Linked DNA regions of Homo sapiens: region 1 is linked to region 2. Evidence: promoter capture Hi-C in 16 types of primary human blood cells and fetal thymus (Javierre and others, 2016). All regions are on one chromosome and are shown on one strand. The core of a region is centred on a gene start or on the middle of the fragment in contact, and the rest is flanking DNA. Distances in the headings are between cores, read along the strand shown.

Region 1 (6,917 bases), core at 1,046-3,545, 670 kb after region 2:
AGGGAATATAAAATAATGAAAAATTCTTTTCATGCTTTCTACAACTTATATTAGTCCGTTTTCATGCTGCTGATAAAGACATAACTGAGACTGGGTAATTTATAAAGAAAATGAGGTTCGATGGGCTCACAGTTCCACGTGGCTGGGGAGGCCTCACAATCATGGCAGAAAGTGAAAGGCACGTCTTACATGGTGGCAGACAAGAGAGAATGAGAGCCAGCCGAAAGGAGAGACCCCTTATAAAATCATCAAATCTTGTGAGACTTATTCACTACCACAAGAACAGTATGGGGGAAACTGCCCCCATGATTCAATTATCTCCCCCAGGTCTCTCCCACAACATGTGGAAATTATGGGAGCTGCAAATCAAGATGAGATTTGGGTGAGGACACAGCCAAACCATATCAAACTTTTTGAAAACATTCTTTTAGCTGCAGTTTCTCACATATGGTTATAGTTCCAAGAGATAAAATTCTTGTATAATTTGAGGAAGAACATTTTTGTTATTTTTAATATATGGCAATGTGAGACATATTTTTAAGTTGTAAAAACAAAAATTAAAAAATTTTCAGGCCTGCTCTCAGTATATGAAGATTAGGCATTTAAACTTCTTATCCTTTAAATGCATTCTAAATAAGAATTACAGGCTTTGCTTAATTTGAAGAAAATCTATTTGACATTAATACATTTATCTTCATTTGCAGTATTATTCTGAATATGAATGTCTTGGAGCTAGGTACAGTGGCTCACACCTGTAATCTCAACAATTTGGGAGGCCGAAGGCAGGCAGATCACCTGAGGTCAGGAATTCCAGACTAGCCTGGCCAATGTGGTGAAACCCCATCTCTACTAAAAATACAAAAATTAGCTGGGCATGGTGGCAGGCACCTGTAATCCCATGTAATACGAGCTACTCGGGAGGCTGAGGCAGGTGAATCACTTGAGCCTTGGGCGGAGGTTGCAGTGAGTTGAGATTGCACCACTGCACTCCAGCCTGGGCAACAAAGGCAAAACTCTATCTCAAAAAAAAAATAATAATAATATAATAATAATAATAATTAATGTAGTTGAATGAATACAAGGATAAAGCCAGTCCTCAGGCACATTGTGTGTACATTTAAATACTAGTTAAAAGGCAGTCTACTTTTCTTTATATTCTTTGGTGTGTATGTGCATTAAGTTGCAAAATCAAGGACTCCAGTTCAGTGTATTCCTTTTCTGCATAAATAAATAACAAAATGATAGTAAAATATTTGACAGAAAAATGAAAAGGAGACTCTCTCATCATTAAAAAAAGTAAAACCATGAATTGCATAAATCTATGATTAGCATAAATGGAGAACTGCAAAAGTGAAAGTAATACTAAAAAAATACTCCAGTAGCTTCTGCACAGACCAAATTATTTGAATTTATAATTAGAAAGTTATGCTAAGTGTGACAGAGATTCTTGCTATTTTTTATTTATTGTCTGGACTTCTTTTTTTAAAGAAGTGACCCTTGCCCCGCCACCTGTTAATGACTCTGTTAAAGTAATTTTAAGTATTTTCTTTCAATACATTTCTATTTGATATTATTAATAAATTTACTTTAAATGCTTGGAACTAGAGACTTTATAACATGTAAATTAATACAATATGTGGCAAAACTATGAAAATATTTGCACCTCAGATTATGACAGTGATGGAATATGGAATCTGCTATCTTTAGAGTATACTTAAGAGTGCAGCTTAGGCTGGGCACAGTGACTCACACCTGTAGTCTCAGCACTTTGGGAGGCCGAAGTGGGTGGATTGCTTGAACTTACAGGTTCGAGACCAGCCTGGGCAACATGGCTGGTCTTTACAAACCCTGTCTCTACAAAAAATACAAAAATTAGCTGGGTGTGGTGGTGCATGCCTGTAGTCCCAGCTACTGAGGGGGCTGAGTTGGGAGGATCACTTGAGCCTGGGAGGCTGAAGTTTCAGTGAGCCGTGATGGTGCCACTGCACTCCTGCCTAGGTGATAGAGCCAGACTTTTTCTCAGAAGAGTACAGCTTAGATTATTTTTTTTCTGAGAACCTTATCTTTCTAATTACCAATATCTGTAAGCTTATATTTGCTAATAAGATAAATTCAGACAATTCTCAGGAGGTAGGGAGGGCGGCAGGGTAAAGGGAGCACTTTTATTTTCAAAGTACCATTCGTAACAAAAATACAGCAAAAAGATTTCGTCAGGTAGTATCCATGTGCTAGTGTTCTATAAACAAACAAACAAAACTTGCATACAGTCCTCATTCCTGACAAGACTTGCCAACTTTGCCTTGAAATTTTTGGGAGCCCTCGGAATCTCTCTAATTAGAGTCCCAGATCCTAGTTGCTGCCACTGGGAGCAAATGTGCTTAGTCATTGTGCACCACCTTGTGGCAGCGTTTAGACATGCATCTTTTTTAGAAGTTCTTTAGTATTTAAGACCCAAAGGCAACTCTTTATTCTTCATTTTAAAACAGCAACTTGCAAAGCTTTTCTTCCAAGTCTTCCCACCTCAAAACAAAGGTTCCTTCTCTAAATAACTTAAATGAATCCTCTGGGAGAGCTAAAGCAACTGGTACAACTAGAGAGAGAATTGTTGATAGATCAGTCTCTGGAATTAGACTACCTTGAATTAGAATCTCAAATTTGCTACTTACTAACAGCATAGTCTTGAGCATCTTACTTAACCTCTGTAAGAATTAATTTTCTCATAGGTGAAATGGAGATATAATAGGAACCTTATAGGCAGACAACCAAGGGTGATGAGACATTTTAGGAAAATGTAGAATGTGTGAAAGTCCAAAATAAGGAAATAGAAAATGGATGAAAGAGCAACAGGATAATTCAGGAATGTAATAAAACCTAATATAAAACTTTAGTAACGTCCGAGAAATTAAAGATTAAATTGCAACCACAAAACTGAATAGGATGCCATTTTAAAATAAAAAGAACCAGAGCAAGCACAGAGAAGCAAAAATTATGTTTGGAAGGAAAACCGGAGGTCTCGAACATAAAGTCAATACCTTCTCAATGAAAGCAAAAAGTCAAGGAGACAGAAAATATAAGAGAAAAGGGGGGCAATTTAAGAACCCAGTATCTAACTTATAAGTGTTCAAGAAAGAACAAACAAATCAGAAGAAATAATTTGAGAAACGTTTTCAGAACTGAAGTGAGACAGAAATCTTCACATTAAAAAGTCTTACTTAATGCTAGTTAGGATGAATGAAAGGTCTACAAATAAAGCTAATTGCAATATTTCAGAACATTGTGGATAAAGACAAAATTGTAAATGCTTACGAGGCACAAAAATTTAAAAATGTAATAGTCTTTTAGTGAGCAATGTTGGATGCTAAAAGTCAATTGATTTAAAATTCCAGGGGGAAGCCAGGCACAGTGGTTTGTGCCTGTAATCTCAGCTACTTGGAAGAATGAGAAGGCAGGAGTGCGTGCGCCCAAGAGTTCGAGGCTGCGGTGAGCTGTGGTCTCACACCTGCACTCCAGCCTGGGTGACAGAGCGAGACCCTGTCTCCAAAACTGTAATAATAAAAAATAAAATTCCAAGGGAAAAATGATTTTCAACCTTATGTTCTATGCCCAGCCAAACTACTAAGTATGAAAGTAATATAAAGATGCCTTAATACATTCAAAGATTCAGAAAATTTTATTCTTATACATCCTTTCTTAGGCAGTTGCTCAAAATTGAGCACCAGTAAAACAAGAAAGAAAAAGCCCAAGAATCCATTTGTAGTAGATTCAGCCCAGGAACTTAATGAAAGGAAGTTCAAAGGTGACAGTTACAGGACAGGTCTAGATTGCATTAGGAGGCAGATAGAGGGTTCAAGGAAGGAGGCATTGATGAGGGGGGAATAAATGGGTGAGGTATTCCCATGTATTTGCTTTTACCCTTCAACTATTGAGTGAACTTAAAGAAACAAGATGGATATTGCTAGACAAAAAGGAAGGCTGCAAAACTTCAGGGGAAGCAATATGCTGCTCAAGAAAGAAAACCACTCCACTTGATTCTGCATTAAAAATATTTTTACCTTCTGTATATCTCTCAAATCAGTCTATTCTCTGTAACTCTACTACCACCACCACTCTGGAGTTACCATGATTTCTGCTTAGACTTGTACTGGTTTTCTTGCATCCTTTCTGTCTTATCTCAAATCTGTTCTCCATATTACACTCTATATGGTGACGTTTTTCACAATGCAGATCTGATTGTGCCCCCTCTTCGGTTAAAACATTTCAGTGGCTTCCCATAGCTCTTAGAATCTAAATCATTAGCATCCCCTAGAAGGTTCTATATGGTCACATGGTCAACCAGTCCCTAAGCAGCAATGTAGTGGTAGCTGCTATGTGGTCTTGCCTCACTTCTGTAGATTTGGCTGGTAAGGACACCCTAATGGATTTAAACAGTTTATTACTTACACAGATGGCAAAGCAAGATCAGCATGGTATTAGCTGCTTACATCCCCAATTCCACAGGATGATACCAAACTAGGGGGGTCAGATGACAGACAACATGAGTGGTGGGTTGCTTTGTTTTTGAGAAGTGAACTCTAGGCTTCAGCTAAGCAGTTTTATCTGAAAGGGGCAAAATGGAAAGTTCCATACCTTAGTGGAATCAGGGAGGCAGATGAGAAACTGCCGCATGGCAAGTCTTCTGCAAGATCGAGGGTCTTCTGCAAGGTATGGAGCAAATGTGAAATGGCCTTTGATAGCTCCTCACAAGACTACCTATCTTGCCATTTTTAAGGATGATCATGGGGCATTCTGCCAACAGTTGAGTCTTACCTACATGGCCTATATGGAGATATGCAATTGCCATGGTGCCATGGTGGAACTGTTCCCCTACAAACATAGGCTGCCTTTACTACCACTATAGTCTCATCTTACATACTTTCTCATATTTGCTAGCATCAGTCATATTGACCTTTCAGTTTCCCCAATGTGCCATGCTTTTCCTTGTCATAGAGCTTTAGCATATGCTATCCCCTCTGCCTGAACTCTAATTTCTCCTCCTTCTTTGCCTTCTTAACTTCCCTTCTTTCTTCAGTGCTCAGCCCAACGTTCCTGACCAGAACAGCTTCACCTGTTACCACATAGCATGATGTACCACTCCTTCACAGCATTCAGAACAATTTTAGTTTAAAATTTATTTGTTTAATCTTGGATTGATGTAATAGTAGAGATAGCGGATATAATATATACATTAATATATTTGTTTATCACTTAATTGTCAATTGTTTTTACATACTTAAATTACATTTTATTTTTACGTCTCTGTGAGGTAAACAGAACAGATATTAAATCTTTTTTCCCAAATAAGAGCCTATATTAGAGCTCATTTTTTTTCTATTTTAGTGTTCCCTGTACTTCACCACTATGTTTTTTCTGTAAATACATTCAATATAAGGCAGCATACAGTAAGCAAGAGGCACAGAGAAAATGCCACAGGGGCCCAAAGGAGAGGGAAATCAGATCAGGTGATCACCATAGACCTCCAACCCAGAGGTGCCATTTGAGTCAGACTTGAAGGTTGGTAGGCATCTGTTGGGCAAGGAAATGAGGGTCTTCTAAGACAAGAGATAGTATCAAAGCTACAGTTATAAAAAGGCATGGAACTATTTGAAGAATGGCAATTGAATGTGTTTTGATGGATGTAGGGCTAATATGGGTCCCAGGAAGGGAAGCTGGAATTGGATCATGCAGGACCTTGAAGATGGAATTGATTTTGCTGGCAGTAGGAAGTAACTCATGTTTCTAAGTGGGCAAATTGGTCTGATCAGCATTGGACTTTAAAAGTATTAAATAAGCAACAATGTGTAGAATAAATTGTATCATGGAGGACTGGATTCAAAGAAACCAGTTCTGATCTAAGTGAGAGGTAACAGGACCATGACTTGGGACAAAACACCTGAAACAATAAGTCGTGACACACTTTACAAAGTTTAAAGTCAAAGCCTTTCAGTCAGTGCCTAATAGGAACACACTTGGGTCTGAGGAACGTTAGGTTTATTTAACATACTGCAGCAAAGGAGAGCACCATAGCCACAGAACTGTGGGTCATCTCAAGGAGCCAGGAGGATTTTCTTATAGGATTTCAGAATCTTATTATAGGATTTCAGAATCTTATTATAGGATTTCAGCTTGTGCTGGGTGACTCTTAGGAAGGTTTAGGGAAAGCAGAGATCAGTTCTAGATTGGATGCTCTCAGGAAGTAAGATGTTGGATATTTTGGTACATTTTTTTTTTGGAAGTGAGAGGATTTAAAAAATAGTAGTCATCTGTGTTAGCCAGAAGAGGGGGATGTTTCATTATTTTTTATGTTTCTTGAGAGTTCTTTTCTCTAGTTTCAGAAACATTTACATGGTAGTCTTATCTCTGTCTTCTTCTACTATGGTCACAGAGTGGCCTTATCTGGGTATTTATATTCTCAAAATTGTTTGCTCAATTGGGAATACTGTGGTTAGCTGTCAGCTTCCAGCCGCCCAGGTGTTTTCTTTTTACCTTATCAGTACCCAATACATTGATCTGTTCAGCTCTAAGGACCAGCCGTTGCCTCATATGTTGAGCAGCCTCATCCATTTACCCTAGGCTGCAATATGTATATTATCACTGTCTAGACGTGCCATGACTTGGAAAGCTTGACTGAACAATGGTACCGAAAATGAAGAGTAAAGTACCAAGAAATGTTGTAAAGTTTTCAAGCTCTCCACTATCTCCAACATTTCTGGTTCACTTAAAATCTATGCTGCAGCAAAAATAAGCTGATTTCAGCTCTTACAATCGGTGATTTGCTGCTTTTGGGTATTTGCCCTCCACCTGGAATATCTTCCCTTTGTCTCATTCTCATGTTCGTATTTCCATCTGTCCTTCAAGGACCAGTTCAAACATCTCTCTCC
Region 2 (7,168 bases), core at 833-3,332:
ACGCCCCCCCGCCACCCTGCCGCCCCGCCTTATGCCAATCTCAGCCACTTCAAAGTATCAAATACATGGGCACAAATGACTGCTGAATATAATTTAAATATTCGAGATACTTACTGTTTTCCTATTCTCCATCCAATAAACCACTGCTTTTATTCAATCACTAGTCACCACATAAATTATGCAATGGTGTTGCTTAAGATCATACAGTTCAACTCACTGTCCTTCATGCTATACAAACCCCTTTATAATCTGCCCCCTTACTAGACTCATCTCTTGCTACTTCACCAATTCCCAACACGGTCAGCGACAGTGAGGCAGGGTATCTGTAGTACTAGCTAGCCAGTAGGCTTAGGCAGAAGAATCGCTTGAGGTCAGTTCAGGCTGTAGTTGGCCATGACAGTGCCTGTCAATACTCCAACCTGGGCAACACAGCAGGACCATCTCTTTTTTTTTTTTTGAGACGGAGTCTCACTGTCATCCAGGCTAGAGTGCAGTGGCCCGATCTCAGCTCACTGCCACATCCACTTCCTCCTGGGTTCAAGCCATTCTCCTGCCTCAGCCTCCCAACTAGCTAGGACTACAGGCACCCACCACCATGCCCGGCTAATTTTTCTATTTTTAGTAGAGATGGGGTTTCGCCATGTCGGCCAGGCTGGTCTCAAACTCCTGACCTCAGGTGATCCACCCGCCTCGGCCTCCTAAGTGCTGGGATTACAGGCGTGAGCGACTCAGGCGATCCTCTGAGATCGCCCAGCCATAGCAGCTATCTGTATTAAAAAAAAAAAAAAAAAAAAAAAAGCAATTATCCACTGTCACATCCTACTCGGTGTACATACATCCATGCCTTTGAGAAACTTCTCTTTACCTGAACTTCCCTCCTCACTTTTTAGTCTAACTTCTATTTGTCCCTCAAGATCAAGACGAGTTATCACTTCTGCCCAAGAGCCTCTCTCATTCCCTCCCATCCACCCAGGCCTTTCCCTTGAGTCCCAAAGTCCCTGTACATACCTCTTTCTTTTTTGGGGGGAGCGGGGAGACGGAGTCTCACTCTGTCGCCCAGGCTGGAGTGCACTGGCGTGATCTCGGCGCACTGCAACTTCCGCCTCCTGGGTTCAAGCGATTCTCCTGCCTCAGCCTCCCGAGTAGCTGGGACTACAGGCGCCTGCCATCACACCCAGCTAATTTTTGTATTTTTGGTAGAGATGGGCATTTCATTATGTTGGCCAGGCTGGTCTTGAACTCCTGACCTCAGGTGATCCACTTGCCTCGGCCTCCGAAAGTGCTGAGATTACAGGGGCGAGCCACTGCACCCGGCCTCCTCTATCTTAATTCTTAATACAGGCCAGCGCGCCTTGAAGTAAAGCCCACCACAATCCTGCAGTACCCAAAAGAGGGTTCAGACGTTCCAGGGGCTTAATAAAGTTAATTGAATAAATAAATGAAGCAAGAACCCGAACTTCCCCGTCCCAAATGACCACTTGCAGAATAAACACAAAATGCCAGCTAAAGCTAAACGCTCCGTACTTTCTCCTGCATTTCCAAAATTACAGTACAGGCAGCAGCGATCCACACCAGTCCAAGACCTAAGAGGAACTACAAAGACCATGAGTATTTTTCAAAATGGGAGGAGGCAGTTGGACAACTGGACCTCCCACTCCCTCGCCCCAACCTCCTCCTTCCCAGCCCTCCCTTGAAGAAAAACCAGACATTTAGGGGAAAAGAGGGAGAGAGAGAAAAAGATCCCTTGGGGGCAACGAGCCTGAAGTTGGTAAGGCCAAAGGGAAGCGACTGGCAACTCACCTGGGCTGCAGGCACGAAGCGGGGTGGCCTTCTCAACTGCCCGGACTGTCGCACGATGTTGATGGGGTCGGGGAGGGGAGAGGGGGGAAAAAACGGTTGTTCCCACCCAAGGCCGCACCTCGGGGCCGGCCTAAGGCAGCACCCCCTGTGGAGGGTACATTACCTGTATGTTACCTGTATATTACAAAACCGACCTTATGTGATTGCCCCTTTCAGGCTGCACAAAATGAAGCGGTGCAGGGCAACAGTTCTCCGCAGTTCCTCGCCGCCAGTTTTTGTTGTAATGGCGGTCGCGCGACAGGCGCTTTTATAGAAGACCCCCCGCGGGCGGCCTGCCCATTGGTCTGAACCTGTCACGTGACCACACCCAGCCCCGGGCGGTGCAAAAAAGGTGTAGGAGTCTGAGCCGGGCAGCTCAGGCCTGTTAGGGCAGGCAGAGTGGGTTCGGGTGATTGCCGTGTAGAGAGCCGGGGGTTAGGAGTAGGAGCGCTACACTCAAGGCGTTTGCTGTTAACACGACGTTTTCACTAATCAGTTAGCCTAGTAGAGGTTCTTGAGTTTTGGCTTCTGATGTTTTCGTGGTTTTCACGCTTTTTTCCCCAGCCTTCTCCACAGTTCCTGTCTCTTGCACGTAGTGAGTGCTTGATCAATATTAGGTAGCAGCTGAGGCTAGAGACATACTCTCTTTGGGTTTAAAGTGGCAATTTAAGAGCTGTTTCGCAACAGCTGCGTACTGATGAGTGCGTGATTTAGGATTTTGAGTCTTCGCAACTACCTCTTGATGGTTTGCAGATACTTTAGAGGTGCTAACATGTATCAGAAGAATATATTTAGTACAGTAGTTTCCCTTAGGATCAAATAGCAAACAACGCTTCTGAATTCCTAATACTCATTCGCAGTGGATGGATGGGAAGGGGAGGGCAAAAACAGCTGACAAGCTGCTCGCAAATCCGGCCAAAAAACCATCGATCTCCAGTTTCCTGAAGCGGAAGTCTGGGGGCCATTAACAGCTTGACACGTCTTAATTCAATCACTTTGATGTGGCAGGAAAGAACCAAGTGTTCACAAGAAAGCAACGCACTTGATCTACTTACTAGACGTCACATAAATACCTGGATTGGCAAGCACTTTTTGTTTAGATTTAATTTTCGTGTTCTTGTTTTTGCTGTTTAAAGTAGTATTAATGGTGTGGCTGCAGGCGCCTGCAATGCCCGTTACTGGGGAGGTTAAAGCGGAAGGCTCACTTAATCCCAAGGTTTCAAGGCCAGCCAGAGCAACAACGTGAAACTCTAATAGATTAGAGATTAGATATAGAGATTATCTTATTGTTCAGGAAAAGAGTAGATGGGTACAGACTTAGGGTGTGACTCTCACATCATGAAAAATCTGAAAGAAGTCAAGGGAAATGAAAGAGAGGAATGACTCAGTACAAATTTTGCCCCAACTATCAACTTTTTGACCTTCCTCTTGAGAATTAGTGGCAGGGAGACATGTACACTCTAGGTAAAGAAGATTGAGTGATTTTTTTGAGATTGAGTCTTGCTCTGTGGCCCAGGCTGGAATGAAGCAATGCAATCATAACTCAAGGTAGTCTCGAACTCCTGAGCTCAAGCATCCTCCTACCTCAGCCTCTCCAGGTACTGTAGGTGCAGACCACCACATTGCCTTCTGAACCATCTTTTAAAAAGCTTAATCTCAGGCTGGGCTCGGTGGTTCATGCCTGTAATCCCAGCACTTTGGGAGGCTGGGGGTGGGGGTGGGAAGGGGTGGATCACTAGGTCAGGAGTTCGAGACCAGCCTGACCAACATGGTGAAACCCTGTCTCTACTAAAAATACAAAAATTAGCTGGGCGTGGTGGCACGGGTCTGTAATCCCAGCTACTCAGGAGTCTGAGGCAGGAGCATCGCTTGAACCTGGGAGGTGGAGGTTGCAGTGAGCCGAGATCGTGCCACTGCACTCCAGCCTGGGCAACAGGGCGAGACTGCATCTCAAACAAACAAACAAAAAGCTAAATCTCATCATGTTACCACCCTTAAAACCTTTCAATTACTTTCCATTATTTTTAGGATAAAAAGCAAACCCCTTAAGATGAGCTAAAAAGTCCTACATGCCTTCAGCTCCAACTACACCTTCAGTAGTGCCCCCATCTTCAGCCAGTGACCTTTCAGCTCTTTCCAGGACCCTATCCTTTGTCTCTGGGCTTCTACAATTGGCTCTTTCATCCTTCCTCCGATCCCACACTGATTCCTCAACTCTCAGGCTGAAGTCATTTCCTCAAGGGGGCCTCCACTGGATTAGGTCTTCCTGTTAAACACTCTTATTACAACCTAATTAAATAGCACTAATTACAACTGTATAGCCAGTGGTATATTTAATGTCTATTTCCTGCACTAGACAGTATGTACCATAAGTGCAAAGTATCAAAAACTTTTAAAGTATATTATCATTGAGTAAATTACCCTTCGATCCTGCCTTTTGTTTTTTTTTTTTTTTTGAGACAGGGTCTTGCTCTGTCACCCAGGCTGGAGGGCAATGACATGATCATGGCTCACTGCAAACTCCACCTCCTGGGTTCAAGCTATTCTCCTGCCTCAGCCTCCCAAGTAGCTGGGACCACAGGCATGTGCAACCACGCCCAGCTAATTTTTTTTGTATTTTTAGTAGAGATGGGGTTTTATCATGTTGGTTAGGCTGGTCTTGAACTCCTGACCTCAAATGATTCGCCTGCTTTGGCCTCCCAAAATGCTGGGATTACAGACGTGAGCCACTGCACCAGGCCCTGCCTGGGTTTTAATGACTCTGGCAAATTAGATTTGAATTAAGGGGGTGGGGAAAGTAAAAAGACCAGATTTGAAGTTTCTTTTGTTTTCTGTTATTTTTGTTTTCTTTTTTTTTTAACTTGAAATGGCTGCAAAAATGGAGAATATGGAGAATGGGTTTATTTGGGAGGTAGACCTCCCCACTAGGATTTGGTATTAGATTAGATGTAAAGATGGTCTGGGTTGCATTGAGCATTTGGAGAATGGCACCATTTACTGAAAGGGAATCAGTCTTAGAAGGTTGAAGATCATTATTTCAGTTTTGAATATTCTGTAAGATATCTAGGTGGAGATTTTGAATAAGAAGTTGATTAACCAGTTCAAAATACAGTCTAGGCTAAAGATGGGAAAGAAGGACAGGAAGGAGGTTAGGAGAGAGTGGAAATTTTTCTAAATAATTATTACAGAGAACAGAACAAGCTGATTGGAAATGTGCATTTAGTAAGACATACTTGAGACAGTGAAGACACAGAAATTGGTGACTGTTTGTGGAGAAATGAGGTAGTAGCATTGAGATTTGCCAGGGGTGTATGACAGAAAAATGGTAGGGGAAAGTAGCTTCAAAAATATGGAAAAGAAAGTGGGCTGGGCGCAGTGGCTCACGCCTGTAATCCCAGTATTTTGGGAGGCCGGGGTGGGCGGATCGCCTGAGATCAGGAGTTTGAGACCAGCCTGGCCAACATGGTGAACCCCGTCTCTACTAAAAATACAAAAATGAGCCAGGTGTGGTGGTGGGTGCCTGTAATCACAGCTACTCGGGAGGCTGAGGCAGGAGAATTGCTTGAATCTGGGAGGCGGAGGTTGCAGTGAGCCAGGATTACACCACTGCATTCCAGCCTGGGCGACAGACTGAGACTCCATCTCAAAAAAAAAAAAAAAGAAAGTGGCTGAAGACTAGGATATTATGAGGCTATTCTATGACATATGGAAATACTCGTAATTATGATTTTTTAAAAAATCATCAAAGAGTTTCAGGTAGCATGCATTTTTCATTTAAATCAGGCTATCACAAGAACATACTTTGGAGACATTTTAACATTTCCATCCTTCACAGTGATTGGGGGATCACCGGGTTGCCTAAGGAGGGAGGAACCAACCCAGGTCAGAAACGGATCAGGTTGGCCGGGCACCGTAGCTCATGTCTGTAATCCCAGCATTTTGGGAGGCAAGGAGGGGTGATCACTTGACATCAGGAGTTCAAGACCAGCAGAGCCAACATGGTGAAGCCCCGTCTCTACTAAAAATAAAAAAATTAGCTGGATGTGATGGTGCCCGCCTATAATCCCAGCTACTTGGGAGGCTGAGGCACGAGAATTGCTTGAATCCGGGAGGTGGAGTTTGCAGTGAGCCAAGAATGAGCCACTGCACTCCAGCTTGGGCGACAGAGTGAGACTCCATCACAAAACAAAACAAAACAACAACAAAAAGAAATGTAGCAGGTCAAAACTCCTGTGCTGATCAGTAATGGGATCTCAGCTGTGAATAGCCTGTGCACTCTAGCTGGGCAATATAGCAGGACCTTGTCATTAATATATATATATATATATATATATATATATATATATATATATATATATATATATTTTGTTGTTGTTGTTGTTTAAGTTTCCATCCTTCATCTAACATTAGATTCAACAAAAGGAAACCCATCTTCTGGTCTCCATAGCAACTATAGATTCACAAATGTCCTCAAAACTAAGAGTTAAAGAATTTAAATTTACAACTGGTTTATCACTAAAAATGAAAAAATATCACTCTTGCCTCAGAAGGAGGAAATTTTTTAAAAAGTAAAAATAGGCCGGGTGCAGTGATTCATGCCTGTAATCCCAGCACTTTGGGAGACCGAGGCGGGCAGATCATTTGAGTCCAGGAGTTCAAGACCAGTCTGACCAACATGGCGAAACCCCATCTCTACTAAAAATACAAAAATTAGCCGGGCGTGGTGGTGGGTGCCTGTAATCCCAGCTACTCAGGAGGCTGAGACAGGAGAATCGCTTGAACCCAGGAGGCAGAGGTTTTAGTGAGTCAAGATCATGCCACTGCACTCCAGCCTAGGTGACAGAGTGAGACTCCGTCTCAGAAAAAAAAAAAAAAAAAGGTGTAGAGACAGGGTCTCACCGTGTTGCCCAGACTGGTCTCTGGTCTCGAATTTCTGGCCTCAAGGAATCCTTCCACCTCAATCTGTTGAGTTTTTTTTTGAGACAGGGTCTCACTCTGTTACCCAGGCTGGAGTGCAGTGGTGCAATCAGGCTCACTGTAGCCTCAACCTCTTGGCCTCAAGCCATCAGATCCTCCCACTTCAGCCTCCTGAGTAGCTGGGACTACAAGTGCACACCACCACCCCTGGCTAATTTTTTTTATTTTTTTTGTAGAGATAAGGTCCTGTCATGTTACCCAGGCTGGTCTCAAACTACTGGCCTCAAGAGATCCTCCCACTGAGGCCTCTCAAAGTGGTGGGATTACAAGCCTGAGTCACCATGGCTCATGGCCCGGTCTCCTCCCTGGAGGTCCAAGGTTGGGGAGGATGGGGACTGAAAGTTCCAACCCT

What was found. The method cuts DNA at HindIII sites, captures the fragments that hold promoters and counts their contacts. A CHiCAGO score of 5 or more calls a contact.
Region 1: a fragment that was not itself captured here is called in contact with the fragment with the promoter of BRDT in region 2 in 3 of 17 cell types (naive B cells, total CD8 T cells and naive CD4 T cells); the score reaches 5.5 in naive B cells.

What each region holds. Positions count from the first base shown.
Region 1 is chr1:91,278,366-91,285,282 of GRCh38, reverse strand. All of the region lies in intron 30 of HFM1 (helicase for meiosis 1), which reads left to right. Among named protein-coding and RNA genes, the nearest start is that of HFM1, 120 kb to the left of the region's middle. The HindIII fragment of the contact is 410 bases long and covers 2,091-2,500 here.
Region 2 is chr1:91,944,315-91,951,482 of GRCh38, reverse strand. BRDT (bromodomain testis associated) reads right to left here and starts at 2,082. Exons shown (of 19, transcript NM_207189.4): 1 at 1,801-2,082. The HindIII fragment of the contact is 8,652 bases long and covers 1-3,490 here.